5 separate regions of the Homo sapiens genome follow, and all the other regions are linked to region 1. The links are contacts of gene promoters, found by promoter capture Hi-C in blood cells and fetal thymus (Javierre and others, 2016). All regions are on one chromosome and are shown on one strand. The core of a region is centred on a gene start or on the middle of the fragment in contact, and the rest is flanking DNA. Distances in the headings are between cores, read along the strand shown.

What was found. Contacts are between HindIII fragments. The CHiCAGO score rates a contact against its expected background, and 5 or more counts as called.
Region 2: a contact is called between a fragment that was not itself captured here and the fragment with the promoter of CCDC62 in region 1, in 1 of 17 cell types (endothelial precursors). The highest score is 5.1, in endothelial precursors.
Region 3: a fragment that was not itself captured here is called in contact with the fragment with the promoter of CCDC62 in region 1 in 3 of 17 cell types (M2 macrophages, M0 macrophages and M1 macrophages); the score reaches 5.7 in M2 macrophages.
Region 4: a contact is called between a fragment that was not itself captured here and the fragment with the promoter of CCDC62 in region 1, in 1 of 17 cell types (M1 macrophages). The highest score is 5.0, in M1 macrophages.
Region 5: a contact is called between a fragment that was not itself captured here and the fragment with the promoter of CCDC62 in region 1, in 1 of 17 cell types (M1 macrophages). The highest score is 6.0, in M1 macrophages.

The regions. Positions count from the first base shown.
Region 1 is chr12:122,773,241-122,775,940 of GRCh38, reverse strand. CCDC62 (coiled-coil domain containing 62) reads right to left here and starts at 1,369. Exons shown (of 13, transcript NM_201435.5): 1 at 1,235-1,369. The coding sequence starts at 1,270. RefSeq lists silencers at 505-799, 1,322-1,531 and enhancers at 1,002-1,141, 529-1,222. The HindIII fragment of the contact is 6,061 bases long and covers 1-1,982 here.
Region 2 is chr12:122,518,951-122,521,650 of GRCh38, reverse strand. RSRC2 (arginine and serine rich coiled-coil 2) reads left to right here. Exons shown (of 10, transcript NM_023012.6): 3 at 223-266; 4 at 2,622-2,700. Among named protein-coding and RNA genes, the nearest start is that of RSRC2, 6.6 kb to the left of the region's middle. The HindIII fragment of the contact is 5,031 bases long and covers 1-2,700 here.
Region 3 is chr12:122,620,597-122,623,296 of GRCh38, reverse strand. KNTC1 (kinetochore associated 1) reads right to left here. Exons shown (of 64, transcript NM_014708.6): 60 at 2,689-2,700; 61 at 1,327-1,416; 62 at 690-835. Among named protein-coding and RNA genes, the nearest start is that of MIR9902-1, 74 kb to the left of the region's middle. The HindIII fragment of the contact is 2,548 bases long and covers 15-2,562 here.
Region 4 is chr12:122,537,136-122,539,877 of GRCh38, reverse strand. KNTC1 (kinetochore associated 1) reads right to left here. Exons shown (of 64, transcript NM_014708.6): 4 at 1,424-1,539; 5 at 124-202. Among named protein-coding and RNA genes, the nearest start is that of KNTC1, 11 kb to the right of the region's middle. The HindIII fragment of the contact is 271 bases long and covers 1,298-1,568 here.
Region 5 is chr12:122,583,141-122,585,840 of GRCh38, reverse strand. It overlaps KNTC1 (kinetochore associated 1), which reads right to left. Exons shown (of 64, transcript NM_014708.6): 35 at 1,391-1,563; 36 at 851-948; 37 at 67-205. Among named protein-coding and RNA genes, the nearest start is that of KNTC1, 57 kb to the right of the region's middle. The HindIII fragment of the contact is 386 bases long and covers 1,116-1,501 here.

The sequences.
Region 1 (2,700 bases), core at 120-2,619:
AAGATTTGTAAATAAACAAGAATAATGAGGTTGGGCTCAGTGGCTCACGCCTGTAATCCCAGCACTTTGGAAGGCCGAGGTGGGCAGATCACCTGAGGTCGGGAGTTCGAGACCAGCCTGGCCAACATGGCGAAACCCTGTCTCTACTAAAAACACAAAAATTAGCTCGGCATGGTGGTGGGAGCCTGTAGTCCCAGCTATTTGGGAGGCTGAGGCGGGAGGATTGCTTGAACTCGGGAAGCAGAGGCTGCAGTAAGCCGACATTGCGTCACTGTACTCCAGCCCTGGGGACAGAGCCAGACCCTGTCTCAAAAATAAATAAATAAGAATGATGAATAAATTACAGTTGCTAGTCTTAACAAGGAAAATGGAATTTGGAGTCAAGGGATTTCAAGTCCCAAGGCTTGAATTCCAGTGTTGGGTTAGCCCTTCATTCATGCACTCAACAAATAATTTATTGAGCGCCAGTGGCTGGGCCACAGACCTCCAGGCAAGGAGCACATATTCCACTCCAGGAAAACAGGCAGTAAGCCGAGTACACAAAGGCAGGTCGTCTTACACTGATGGACGCGAACCTTGGGCAAGCCCACTTCCAGACTTTTTGGTACAGTGGAGTTGTGAGAGCTCCTTCCTCTACTCGCCAGGTTGTGTAAATTAAGGACACCCTGAGAGGTAAATGGGAAAGCAGCTCCCCAGACGCCAATCGTCCTCCTTAAACAGTAAGCACCGGGTACGCGCTACTCTGTGGCCCGGGCTGAATAACAAGGTGTTATTGGGTTAAGGAAACGGTCGTGACGCCGTTTTCCTCTAGTGTATTGTTTCACTTTTTTTTTTTTTTTTTTTTTTTGAGACGGAGTCTCGCTCTGTCGCCCAGGCTGGAGTGCAGTGGCGCGATCTCGGCTCACTGCAAGCTCTGCCTCCCGGGTTCACGCCATTCTCCTGCCTCAGCCTCCCGAGTAGCTGGGATTACAGGCGCCCGCCGCCACGCCCGGCTAATTTTTTTTTTTTTATTTTTAGTAGAGACGGGGTTTCACTGTGTTAGCCAGGATGGTCTCGATCTCCTGACCTCGTGATCCGCCCGCCTCCGCCTCCCAAAGCGCTGGGATTACAGGCGTGAGCCACCGCGCCCGGCCTGTTTCACATTTTAAGTAGACACCGTTCTTGAGAAGCAATAGATTTCGACCAATGTGCACCGTTCCCGCGGCGCCCCGCCGCGCCCGGAACCGCTGCTTACCTGGCGCCCGGCAAGGAAGGCTGCCGGAGGGTTCATAGGTGTTTCCTCCGCCCCCGGAGAAGCCCGGTGTGGGCGGCGTCACCTCAGAAACGCCATCGGCGCGCCTGCCCCGAGCGGCGGGGGCGAGCCCGGAGCCCCGGGGCCCCGCGCCCTCGGCCGACCCCCGCCCCGTACTCCAACCGCCTGCCTGGTGCCCACGCGGCGTGCGCCCGCCGGGGCTCGGGGCTCCCCGCCAGGGTTTCCGGGCCGCAGCCCCGCTGCGCTGGTGGGCACTGTTCTTCTGCCTCGGAAACTGGGGGCTCCCAAGTGGCTCAGGCTGCGTATGGACGCTTTTTGCCCACGCCCGAGGCTCCGGCGCTGGAAGGCCTGAAAGAACCGGCTGTTCACCACTACCCAGAGAATGAAGAAGTCAATAAAGGCTGCTGCGCCGCCCCCAGCACTCTGGTTTATGACATTTGAGTTGCTCACTTCCCTATCTTCCATCTTCCCCCTAATAACCGTGAGCTCGGCCGTGCTCGCTCCTGTGTAGCTGGCTCCCAGAACAGGACCTGACACTCGAATGCGTGGAGGCAGAGCCCAGCCCTCGGGGATAACAGTTGCGGGCTACCCTAGCACCTTTGATACTTTAAACCAAGAATCACAGATGAAGAGGGGGAAATTTACTCTTGGGAGCTCCTGAAAAGCAATGAGGAGAACCACGGTACTTTGTCATGACAAAATCTACGATATTCTGGGTTGAATCTAAGCTTTTTCACCTGTTCTTCCATAGTCACCTCTTCATCCCCCTTTCACTCTTCCTAAGATGTGGGAACGGGACTAGGAAAAAATAAGGCTTATCACACTTCAGCCCCGGCTGCCCATCCCTGAATGCTTAACCCATCAGACAGCAACACAATTACTAAATACGGTCGGTCTTACAGGGTTTCAACTTTACTTTTTGGTTGAATATGAAATGCCAAAACATGCCCTTGTGTTCAAAAAATACAATCTGAAAATGGAAAAACAAAATTAAGATTTCTTATTTTGAAGCTTTACTGATAGGCTCATGTTTGGGAGACCAAAGCAATGTCTTAGAATTTAAAATCAAGAAAGCTGGGCGCAGTGGCCTGTAACCCCAGCACTTTGGGAGGCCAATGTAGGAGGATCTGTTGCGTTCAGGAGTTTGAGACCAGCCTGAGCAACATGGTGACACCCACCTCTAAAAAACTTTTTTTTTTTTTTTTTTTGAGATGGAGTCTGGCTCTTGTTGCCTGAGCTGGAGTGCAATGGCACAATCTCGGCTCACTGCAAACTCTGCCTCTGGCCTCAAGCAAATCTCCTGCCTCAGCCTCCCGAGTAGCTGGGATTACAGGTGCCCGCCACCACGCCACCTTTGTTGTATTTTTAGTAGAGATGGGTTTCACTACCTTGGCCAGGCTGGTCGCGAACTCCTGACCTCAGTTGACCCACCCACTTCAGCCTCCCAA
Region 2 (2,700 bases), core at 201-2,700, 250 kb after region 1:
AAAGATGTATCTAGGCTGCTTTATGTCCTGGTTTGCTCAGATTGCTTGATTTGTTTCACATGTGTGTTGTATTAATGTAGAATAATCCCACCCGTGCCATGAAAAAATTAGTCATTGGAAGAAGACTAATGGGAGTCATTTTTCTCCAGCATTAAGAGTTTTTTAAGATGAAATGTTTCTCCAACTTTGTTTATGGTGATTATTTTTTTTGTGTATTCACAGATAATGAAGGAAGAAAACACAGGAGCCGGAGCAGAAGCAAAGAGGTAATTAACACTTTGTAGTGAATAGGTACTTTAAAATACTTATAAAGTGTCTGGTAGAAAGATTTGTATGAATATAAGACGTTGTCAAGGTAAGTACAAAACTTGAAATTTAAAAGGTTTATTGGGTTATAAAATAAGCATGATTTTGATTCATCATTTTTGAAGAAGATGTTTATGTGAAAAGTACCTTCAAAACTTTAATTTTATTATATTGTGAAAATATTCACAATAAAAATTTCATATGAAGAATATGATTGGTTTTTTTAGGCCTGTCACACAGAGCTTCCATTAATCTGAGGTCCCGAGTCTCCTGGTGCCTGACAGTTGCTCAGGATTTTTAAACAGCAATCATCTTTACATAGCAATACCCTAGATATCTGTGCGCTGCTTTTTCCTTATGAACGATAACAGGAGTTCTCTTTTCTTTTGCAAACTAGTTCAGTTTCCCTAATAGTAGTATTGAATTTTGAAATAAAGGTTTGAGTGAGGGACAGCTGAAAAGGTGGCGGTGACACCAAAACTTGAGGAAAAAGAAAGGCAGCAGCTGTATTGCAAAGGAGTTACTTGTTCACCCACCTGAGAAGACAAAGAATGAGCCAATAAGGAAGTGTAGAAGTAGTAGCCAGAAAGGGAGAAGAGTCTTGTGGGGGCTGGGTAAGGGACTCCTAAAACAAGAGTGGGCAGGGACTTCACCTCTTCCCGTAATGGAAGCTCTGTTAAATTTTTAATTTAGGAGAGTTTTTGTGAAAATGACTATTTTGTTTAGCTCACATGATAACATTTCTATAATAAATCATACTCAGCGTGCTTATGCGCGAAGAGACTGAACTGAAGACGCTGCAGACTCAGATAGCAAAATAATAAGCCTACTTCATGATAAGGTAACTATTAGTCATTCAAACTCCTATTTCCCTTAAATATATCTTAAATCAGTTAAGGGTTTTAATGTTTTTTTTAAATTAATAGTAATGTTATGTTTGAAAAACTGGTTTGAAATAAACTTTAAAACCTTTAGAAGTTTAACCACTTAAGACTTTTCCAGTCTGCCTCGTTATAGCAAAACCAAGGAAAATTTCTTTTCTAAGCTCCTATAGAGAACTGGCAATGAAACTAAAATTTAATTGTGTCTCCAGGTCTCTTATTTTTCTGCAAATAATAAATTATGTACTATGATCATTTTCAGATAAATCATCATGCATGTTCCAAAATGATTGGCCAAGTTTTATTTTTAAGAAACATTAATCGTGAGTGGAAAGAAACATGCTATGGCCTTTTGGGAGACAGTAGTGTCTTATTACAGTGGAAAAGTGGTAGCGTGGGCATCAGAAAAACATGGGGAAGGTTCAGCTCACCCATGTAGCTTTGTAACTTTAGATCTTAGTTATACATAAAATAAGGGGATTAAGTTAGAGGATCTTAGTTTCCTTCCAGAATTAAAATTTAGTGATTCAGAGATGTCTAGGATTTTAAACTTTCACTACAAGATGAATTTGACAGATCTTCCTGTAGGGAACTGTAGTATGTAGCACTTCTACTTTGGTATTTGGTAGGATGAGACTTGATCATGCAGTTAATTTGAGCTGAGTCTCTGAATGCACATGTGAAGGCCTTGGTCTTTTTAAAGTGTGGGGGCAGTATGTATTGTGTGATGGCATGTGGATTGTTATACCTAGTTTGGTTTCTTTAAAATTGAAACATACAGTTGCCATTTCTACCCTAGGTACATGAAGTGTAATACTCCTCTAAGCCTATTGGGATACTGCAAGATGAAAAGTGATTGCTTCACAGTTTAGACATTGGGAGGAAAATCAAGAGCTGTCTTTTAGAGGATGTAGCAGGCAGTATAACTGTAAAAGGGACACTGCATCTCTGTGTAAAATAATTTGAAATTATAGAAAATATTAGTACTTAGTAATAATTATATTTAGCTACCTAATTGAAATGCGTTTCTGGTGCACTTTTTGTGTCATTATCTCCATTACTTACTTAAACTTAACATTATGTAATCTGGATTTAGAAGTTGATGTATATACATGGTCTGTATTCTTTTAGATAAACATAAGGGATTCCTCTTTTGTCTGGCATAATGGCTTTTCAATATTTCAACTTTAAAAATCATTGTTTCTGTTGTATTGAAAATATTTTGGGGAGGAACTACATTTTGGGTGTTTATAGTAAAAAAAATAGTAATTACATCTGCAACATTTGGGTGATGTGAAACTAGATCTTTTTTTTATTTGCCACACACTCCTAAGGTTACTAATGTTGCATCACAACATTTTTGTCTACTGATACCCATACTAACTCTCTTTGTTGCACTATTTTCCTGAAAGAACCAACTTCTTCTTAAAACAGGGAAGAAGACATGAATCCAAAGATAAATCCTCTAAGAAACATAAGTCTGAGGAACATAATGACAAAGAACATTCTTCTG
Region 3 (2,700 bases), core at 39-2,538, 150 kb after region 1:
TATCCCAAGAAGCTTATTGTTTCTAAACTTGTGGGTGCTGGAAAATTAGATAACCAGGTTTAACAAAAGTGATGCTACATAAAGTCATTAATGTTCTGAGCAAGTGTCTAGACATAAAATTGTAATGTAGGATTTAGAACAGGGCTGTGAGACACTTGATTTGGGGGTTCAGATGACCTGTTTAATTGTCAGATTCTAAGGTCATATTCCAAGAAATTGGGTTATTAAATGATTAACTTTTGGATATGTGCAGTAATGAGAGATGTAATATTTTGAGCTTTTAATTACAACCAAATAGCTCTACAGTTGACATTCTGCTCCAACATAAAGATAGATTTTTTTTTTTTTGAGACAGAGTTTCGCTCCTGTTGCCCAGGCTGGAGTGCAATGGTGCGATCTCGGCTCACTGCAACCTCTGCCTCCCGGGTTGAAGAGATTCTCCTGCCTTATCCTCCCTAGTAGCTGGGATTACAGGTATGTGCCACCATGCCCGGCTAATTTTGTATTTTTAGTAGAGACAGGGTTTCTCCATGTTGGTCAGGCTGGTTTTGAACTCTCAACCTCAGGTGATCCACCCACCTCAGCTTCCCAAAGTGCTAGGATTACAGTCGTGAGCCATCGTGCCCAGCTTATAAAGATAGATTTTAAGGAAATTCCACAGTAAGTTTTTTTTTTTTTAATTAACTTACCTTAAGTCATTTGCCAAATAGTTCACTAGCTCAGTGATATTGTTGGTATTCATCGCATGCATCTTCAACATTTGAAAGTATTTGGTCTTTGCCAAAATCCCAAACTCCTTCTTATTGATGATATTATTCAAAATCAGACTTCTAATCTATAGAATGACAGGTATCATTAAGATCAGACTTCTAATCTATTAGAATCAGACTTCTAATCTATAGAATGACAGGTATCAAGCCTTTATTCAATATCAAAACATTTCTGACAATCGGAAGCCCAATTAGCACTGCATTGTGACTGCGCCTCCTTTTTGAGGGGGTAAAAAGGGAAAGGAGGCCTGTCAGCATCAGTCAATAAATAAAGTAATTGTTGTTGTGCACTTTGAGACTTTTTATGAGGAAGAAGATCTGTTTTCAATTAAAAGCACTTAAGGCTACAAATTTTCCATGGAGTACAGCAGTCAACAAGACGCTCAGGGTCCCTGCCTCTTAAAAAATTTACTGAGGTTTTAGTAAAAGCAAAATAATTCTATACATAAACAAACAGCTAGACATAGCAGTTTTCAGCTTACTCTTGGTTTGGGAAAATGACTACCTTCTAGTATCAACATTTTCATAGCAAAAAGGAGATGAAATCGCCTCTTACTTGATGTGAAAATCCTGCTAGCTGGCCCGTGTTCATATGCTCTTCCAATTGCTTTAAAATAACCTGAGGGTCACAGGAACCCAGAAAATTCTAGAGAAAAATCAAAGCAGAATTAATAGAAAATTGTTATTATTTATTCCAACAGCAAGAGCCGTTGATCAGGTATTTTGCTCTTCTAAGTGCCAAAAGAAATCTATTTAAATACTGAAACACTGAACGACATCAAGGAATGAGTGTATGAATGATGAAAAGAGGGGAAAAAGTCAAAGACAAGAACAGATGGCTTTTAAAAATGTAATTAATAAGCCAAATGACAAATAAAAAATATGCATGTTCAGCTGGGCGCAGTGGCTCATGCCTATAATCCCAACACTTTGGGAGGCCAAGGCCAGCGGATTGCCTCAGGTCAGGAGTTCGAGACCTGCCTGGCCAACATAGCAAAACCCTGTCTCTACTAAAAATACAAAAGTTAGCCGGGCGTGGTGGCAGGAGCCCGTAACGTCAGCTACTTGGGAGTCACTTGAACCCGGGAGGGAGGCTGCAGTGAGCTGAGATTGCACCACTGGACTCCAGCCTGGGTGACAGAGACTCTCAAAAAACAAAACACAAAAAACAAACAAACGAAAAAGCCTGAATGCATGTATGTTCATTTATGTAGATCTCTATCTACTGGTATATCTACCTGCAGGGAAGATAACTGTAAAACATTCCAAAATGCTTTGTTCTACTTGTTCTCTATTATAAAGGAAATGAGAGTTATTTTTAAAAGTTCTATCCCCAAAATGCTTGTGGCTCCTTCTGATGGGCACCCACACATAAAATCTGACTCTCCCCCTCTTCTATCTCCCACATTCAATTGCTAAGTCTGCTGCCTTCCTTGTAGCCTTCTTGTCTTGTTCAAGTTCATTACCAGACCCTATCATGGGTACTTAACCCTCAAGCCTTCCCTGCCTATGCACAAGGTTGCTATGAAGAGATCAAGTGGGATAAAATTCTACTCAAATGCAACATCTTCCCAACTGTTTCACTTCTTGTCCTCTCCTCTGTCCAAGCCTACATGGGTTAATGGGTTATTCCTTTTAAAATAATTCCTTCATCATTTCAGTTTGCTGTTCTAAAATAATCACTTGTTTCCCCACTGATAGACAATAAGGCCCAAACCCCTTGTAAGACAGCCCTCAGCTGGACCTTAATCTATCTTTCAGTCTTACCTCCCACTAAGCCCCCATACAAGCTTCACACATATCTGATGTATTCATGCTTTACAGGTTTGCTGAAATGAAAATGCGACCTTTTGCAAGGGACATGCAAGATGAAACCTTCTATTTCCTTGGCAGCCCAGAGGAATCATGTGCACGATACCTTAATTTGCTG
Region 4 (2,742 bases), core at 184-2,683, 240 kb after region 1:
CCTGGGAGCTGGTGGTTCCAGTGACCTGAGATTGCGCCACTGCACTCCAGCCTGGGCGACAAAGGGAGACTCCATTAAAAAAAAAAAAAAAAGTCATTCAAAAAAAAATTCAGGAAAACTTACCTTCATTTGAACCATCCTTCTCAATGACAAGATTCTGGTAAGTCCGCCGATTTTCATCGTTAGCTTTCTGAACAAATGCCTAAATGCAAATTAATTTCAAATAATAAAATTAAACATAGAAAAATACAATCAAGGATTTTATTCTTTAAACTCTAGAGTTATCAATTATCATTAGCAATAATTCTGCCTATATTCTAAACATCTTACTTTTAAAATGGAAAACTATTTTGGACAAGTGTACTAAATACCTTCAAGACTGCTCCCTTGCGATTCCTTGAGCCACAAGCCTACTAAACCTGGCCTAAGAAAATTTTTGTTTGACCTGGTGCTAATTTCTATTTATGTGAGAGCCAAGAATTCGGGATCCAAGCTGTGGTAACACCTTCAAAGCTTAATTTTTCAAAAAAACATTTTTTTAATTTAAAATACCATTCAGTATAGGGAAGAAACTCAATCCTGGCAGGCAAGAGACATGGTAACCAAGACCCCAAAGGCTTCATATGTCTGGGCATTCCCTCCTCTACCTTCCTGCCTCCCTTAACAAGCTGACTGGAATCAAACAGCAGAAAGCTGCCTGCTCCTGAGTTAGCTGACCAAGCTGAATTCCCAACCATACAAGAACCTAACCATTTGTCTCCTGGAGTTACTTCTCCCAAAGTTGTTAAAGTGGGACTCTAGCATTCCTAATAAAAACCTGACCATCTTCCAAGGTTACTAAATCAGGATTCTAGCAGTCCTGCTAAGCACCTGACCAGATCCAGCCAGCTGAAGACAAGGTGGACTTCAACCCTGGCCTTTCACCAAGTATTTCCTAATTTTAACCTAATTATGATACTAAAAATCACACCCAGGGATGGAGATTTAACATGCTAGTGAGATATACAACACATGAAAAAGGATGCGACCAAAATTCACAGGCGCTAAAAGTTCCCTGCCTCTACATGCCTACAAATCACTCCCTTTTTCACCTCAGCTTCCTCAAAATGACAAGAGCTAAGCCCTTCGGGGAGCTAGCACTTGGGATCCCTTTCCCATACGCTGTTTCCTTGAGATTCCTTGAGCCACAAGCCTACTAAACATTCCCTGGGAAAATTTCTGTTTGACCTGGTGTTAATTTCTATTTACACGAGAGCCAAGAACTCAGGATCCAAGCTGTGGTAACACCTTCAAAGCTTAATTGTTCAAAAAAACATTGCTTTAATTTAAAACACATGTTAAGTAATAGTTTGCTAGAGTTTTAGTTGTCTAAGAGATTATTTAGAATTTAAATAATGAAAATTAAAATACAACAAGATCTTACATTAGTGAGTAGTGTTTGTTTTGATGTTACATGAATAAGATGTAGGTTGCCACTTCTCTCGCCAACCAAAAGAAACTTTCCTTCTTGACAAAGGCCAACTACATCCACTTCAGTATCTGAAAATTTCAAATCAAAGTTACAAGCTTCCTTCGAAAATCTTTATTTTCAATACAAAAAAAATACAAATTTTTCTCATTAAAAAGCCAACGATTACTTAAGTTACTTCTAAATACTGCAAAACAGATGTGATGAAAGTAAAAAAGAATGTTGTTGACTTTTATTCAGTCAACAAATATTTTTTGTTTTGTTTTGTTTTTGAGACAGCGTCTCGCTCTGCTACCCAGGCTGGAGTGCAGTGGTACCACCCCAGTTCACTGCACCCTAGACTTCCTGGGCTCAGTCAGGCAATTCTCCCACCTCAGCCTCCCAGGTAGCTGGGACCACAGGTACACACCACTATGGCCAGCTAGTTTTTGGTATTTTTTGTACAGACGAGGTTTTGCCATGTTACCCAGACTGGTCTCGAACTCCTGAGCTCAAGCGATTGTCCATCTCTGCCTCCCAAAGTGCTGAGGTTACAGATGTGAGCCACTGCATGCAGCTGGTCAAGAAATATTTACTGAGCACTTACTATATGGTAAACTTTGTTCTAGGCCTTTTACATATATCTGAGAACAGTAACAAAAGATTACCACCGTCACAGAGCTCATATTCTAAGACAGAAATAGCTGATAAATGACCAGGCGTGGTGGCTCACACCTGTAACCCCAGCACTTTGGGAGGCCGAAGCAGGCAGATCACTTGAGGTCAGGAGTTCGAGACCAGCCTGGCCAACATGGTGAAACTCCGTCTCTACTAAAAATATAAAATTAGCCGGACATGGTGGCATGTGCCTGTAATCCAGTCTACTCAGGAGGCTGAGACAGGAGAATCGCTTGAACCCAGGAGGTGGAGGCTGCAGTGAGCTGAAATCACGCCACTGCACTCCAGCCTAGGCAACAGAGCCAGACTCCGTCTCAAAAAAAAAAAAAAATAGCTGATAAACAATTAGCATAATAAACAAACTGTGAGACATGTAAGAAGGTGATAGATGTTCTGGGGAAAAAAATGTAGAGCCAGGTAAGAGAGCTCAGAAGAATGGTGCATTTTGCAGTGTTAATTAGAAAGCTCACAGGAGACATGAAAGAGGTGAGGAAGTTAGCCAAATGACTAAGATGAAGAGCATTCCGAGCATTCAGATGGTGGACACAGCTCAAGGAAAGATCATGGAGTGGGAAGTGCCTGTTGTATTCATGCAAAAGCAAGAAGGCCAAGGTAAC
Region 5 (2,700 bases), core at 59-2,558, 190 kb after region 1:
ACCTCTACAGTTTAAATTTACATAAGACAGAAACACATAGAAAATAATGATACAAATAAGACTTACCAGCTAGAGGCACAAGAGATGAAATCAGTTCATAAATCACTGGAAGCACCATCTGTGACTCAAGAACAATTCCATCTTCACTGAAGAAGTCACTGTAAGACCACTCTTCATATGGATCTTTATGTGTCCCAAAAGAAGCCTAGGTGCCAAATCATACAAAAAAGAGAGAACTCAGTACGCTGCACAACACATTGTTTCTTCTGGTCTATGGCTTATAGAAATTTCATTTTAAGTTAAACTCTAACAGAAGGACAATGTCGAGGGAGGCCTTGCTGGAGGCCCAATGTTTTGAAAGATAGTGCAAATTAAAGCCAATCAAGTGACTGGAACAGAGAAGTGGCCTCATGCCCTTACGTTGTTTTCCGGTCTAGGGTAAGAAAACATAAGAGGTGGATTCAGTATTTTCATAAACTTTGCAAATGATTAAAAAACGGCCCAGGTGCAGTGGCTCATGCCTGTAATCCGAGCACTTTGAGAGGCTGAGGTGGGGGAATCACTTGAGCCCAGGAATTGAAGACCAGCCTAGACAAGATGGTGAGACCCTGTCTCTGCAAAAAAAAAATTTTTTTTTAATTAGTCAGATGTGGTGGCACACACTTATAGTCCCAGCTACTCAGAAGGCTGAGGTGGGAGGACTGCTTAAGCCCAGTTCAAGACTGCAGTAAGCCTTGATCATGCCACTGCACTCCAGCCTGGGTGACAGAACAAAACCCTGTCCGAAAAAAAAAAAAGGTGCATAATGCGTTGCCCAGGATTTAAGGGAAAAAACTCAAAAGTAACTTACTTTCATGAGGATTCCACAGTCATCCATTTGGCATTGTCTGGAAAGCTCTACAGCCATTAAAGTATGTTTACATAGTTCTAAAGCATCTAGTAAAAAATCTGAAACAAAATGGAGAAAAATCATTAAACTCATATTTCATGTCTTTAGGATAATGAAAACAACCTTTTAATAATTACCATTTAAAATTCTAAGGAAGGCCACAATGTAGATAGAAAGGTTCCATATAGCTTTGACTACCCTAAAAAGTTAAATTTTTTCTCAAGCTTGACTTGAAAATAAGATCAGATATGGGAGGCAAGGAATTTCATAATCCTACAAAAGTGAGTAATGTCAACAGTCAGAAATGACATTGTTAGTATTTTGAAATACTTTCAAACAATAATCCTCAAAGAGAATCAATTATAAGCATCCCTTTGTGAAATGCAGATACTATCTCTAGTCTGATTACCGTGATGTCCAATTGTAAAGAGACAGCATTTGGGAGACAAGTATGACATGAACCAGAGAATATAAAACTACGTATATTATAAATATTGTCACCTGGACTGCAAATGGTGGCAGCTTGGCTTGCTAGATCATGTATCATGGAAGGAAGATTCAGTCCCACAGGCACTGTCACTGGGACATTATCAGCCAACATCTGACAAAGCTTCTGACATGTCAGAAATAGCAATTTCCCAGTGTCAGCATTGCAGTGATACTTAAACAAGTCGCTTTGGAAGAAAGAAAGTATTGGTAGTTAGAATACTCACATTGAAAGTGAACGCATGGCCTTTCTTGGATTAATATATCACCACCACCATCAACACATTAAATGTCTTTTAAATGTTCTCATGGTATATAGTGTAGTTTTTCTTTTGTTTTTTTGAGACAGGCTCTAGCCCTATCGCCTAGGCAGGAGTGCAGTGGCACAATCATGGCTCACTGCAGCCTCAACCTCCAGGGTCAAGCAATCTTCTCACTTCAGCCTCCCAAGTAGCTGAGACTACAGGTGTGTGCCACCACACTTGGCTAATTTTTAAATTTTTTTTGTAGAGATGAGCTCTCACTATGTTGCCCAGGCTGGTCTCAAACTCCTGGGCTGAAGTAATCCTCCTGCCTTGGCCTCCAAAACTGCTGGGATTACAGGTGTGAGTCACCGTGCCCAGCCTGTTTTTCTTTTTCTGAGACTGAGTCTCACTCTGTCGCCCAGGCTGGAGTGCAATGGCACGATCTGGGCTCACTGCAACCTCCACCTCCCAGGTTCAAGCGATTCTCCTGCCTCAGCCTCCCGAGTAGGTGGGATTAGAGGTGCCCACCACCACACCCGACTAACAGTTGTATTTTTAGTAGAGACAGGGTTTCACTGTGTTGGCCAGGCTGGTCTTGAACTCCTGACCTCAAGTGATCTGCCCACCTCAGCCTCCCAAAGTACTGGGATTACAGGCGTGAGTCACCACACCTGGCCCCAGCCTGTTTTTCAAATGACTAAGGATACCATTAAATGCTGAAGTGCACAGTAACCTAAATTTAATGGTTATGTTACCTAACTCTGCAGTATTGCTTACTTGCCTTTTATGCTACTACTTTCTGACACTGAGGCCCAAAATATGCTCTGAAGGTGAGAAATCAAGAATTGCTTCTGTGAAAAAAGAGTGTCACTGGCCCTACCCTTATGACTGAAGAAATCAGGCAGTTGTTACTTTCTTTCTTTTTGTGAGACGGAGTCTTGCTCTGTAGCTCAGGCTGGAGTGCAGTGGTGTGATCTCGGCTCACTGCAACCCGCCACGATCCTGCCTCAGCCTCCCCAGTAGCTGGGACTATAGGCACATGCCACCATGCCTGGCTAATTTTTTGTATTTTTAGTAGAG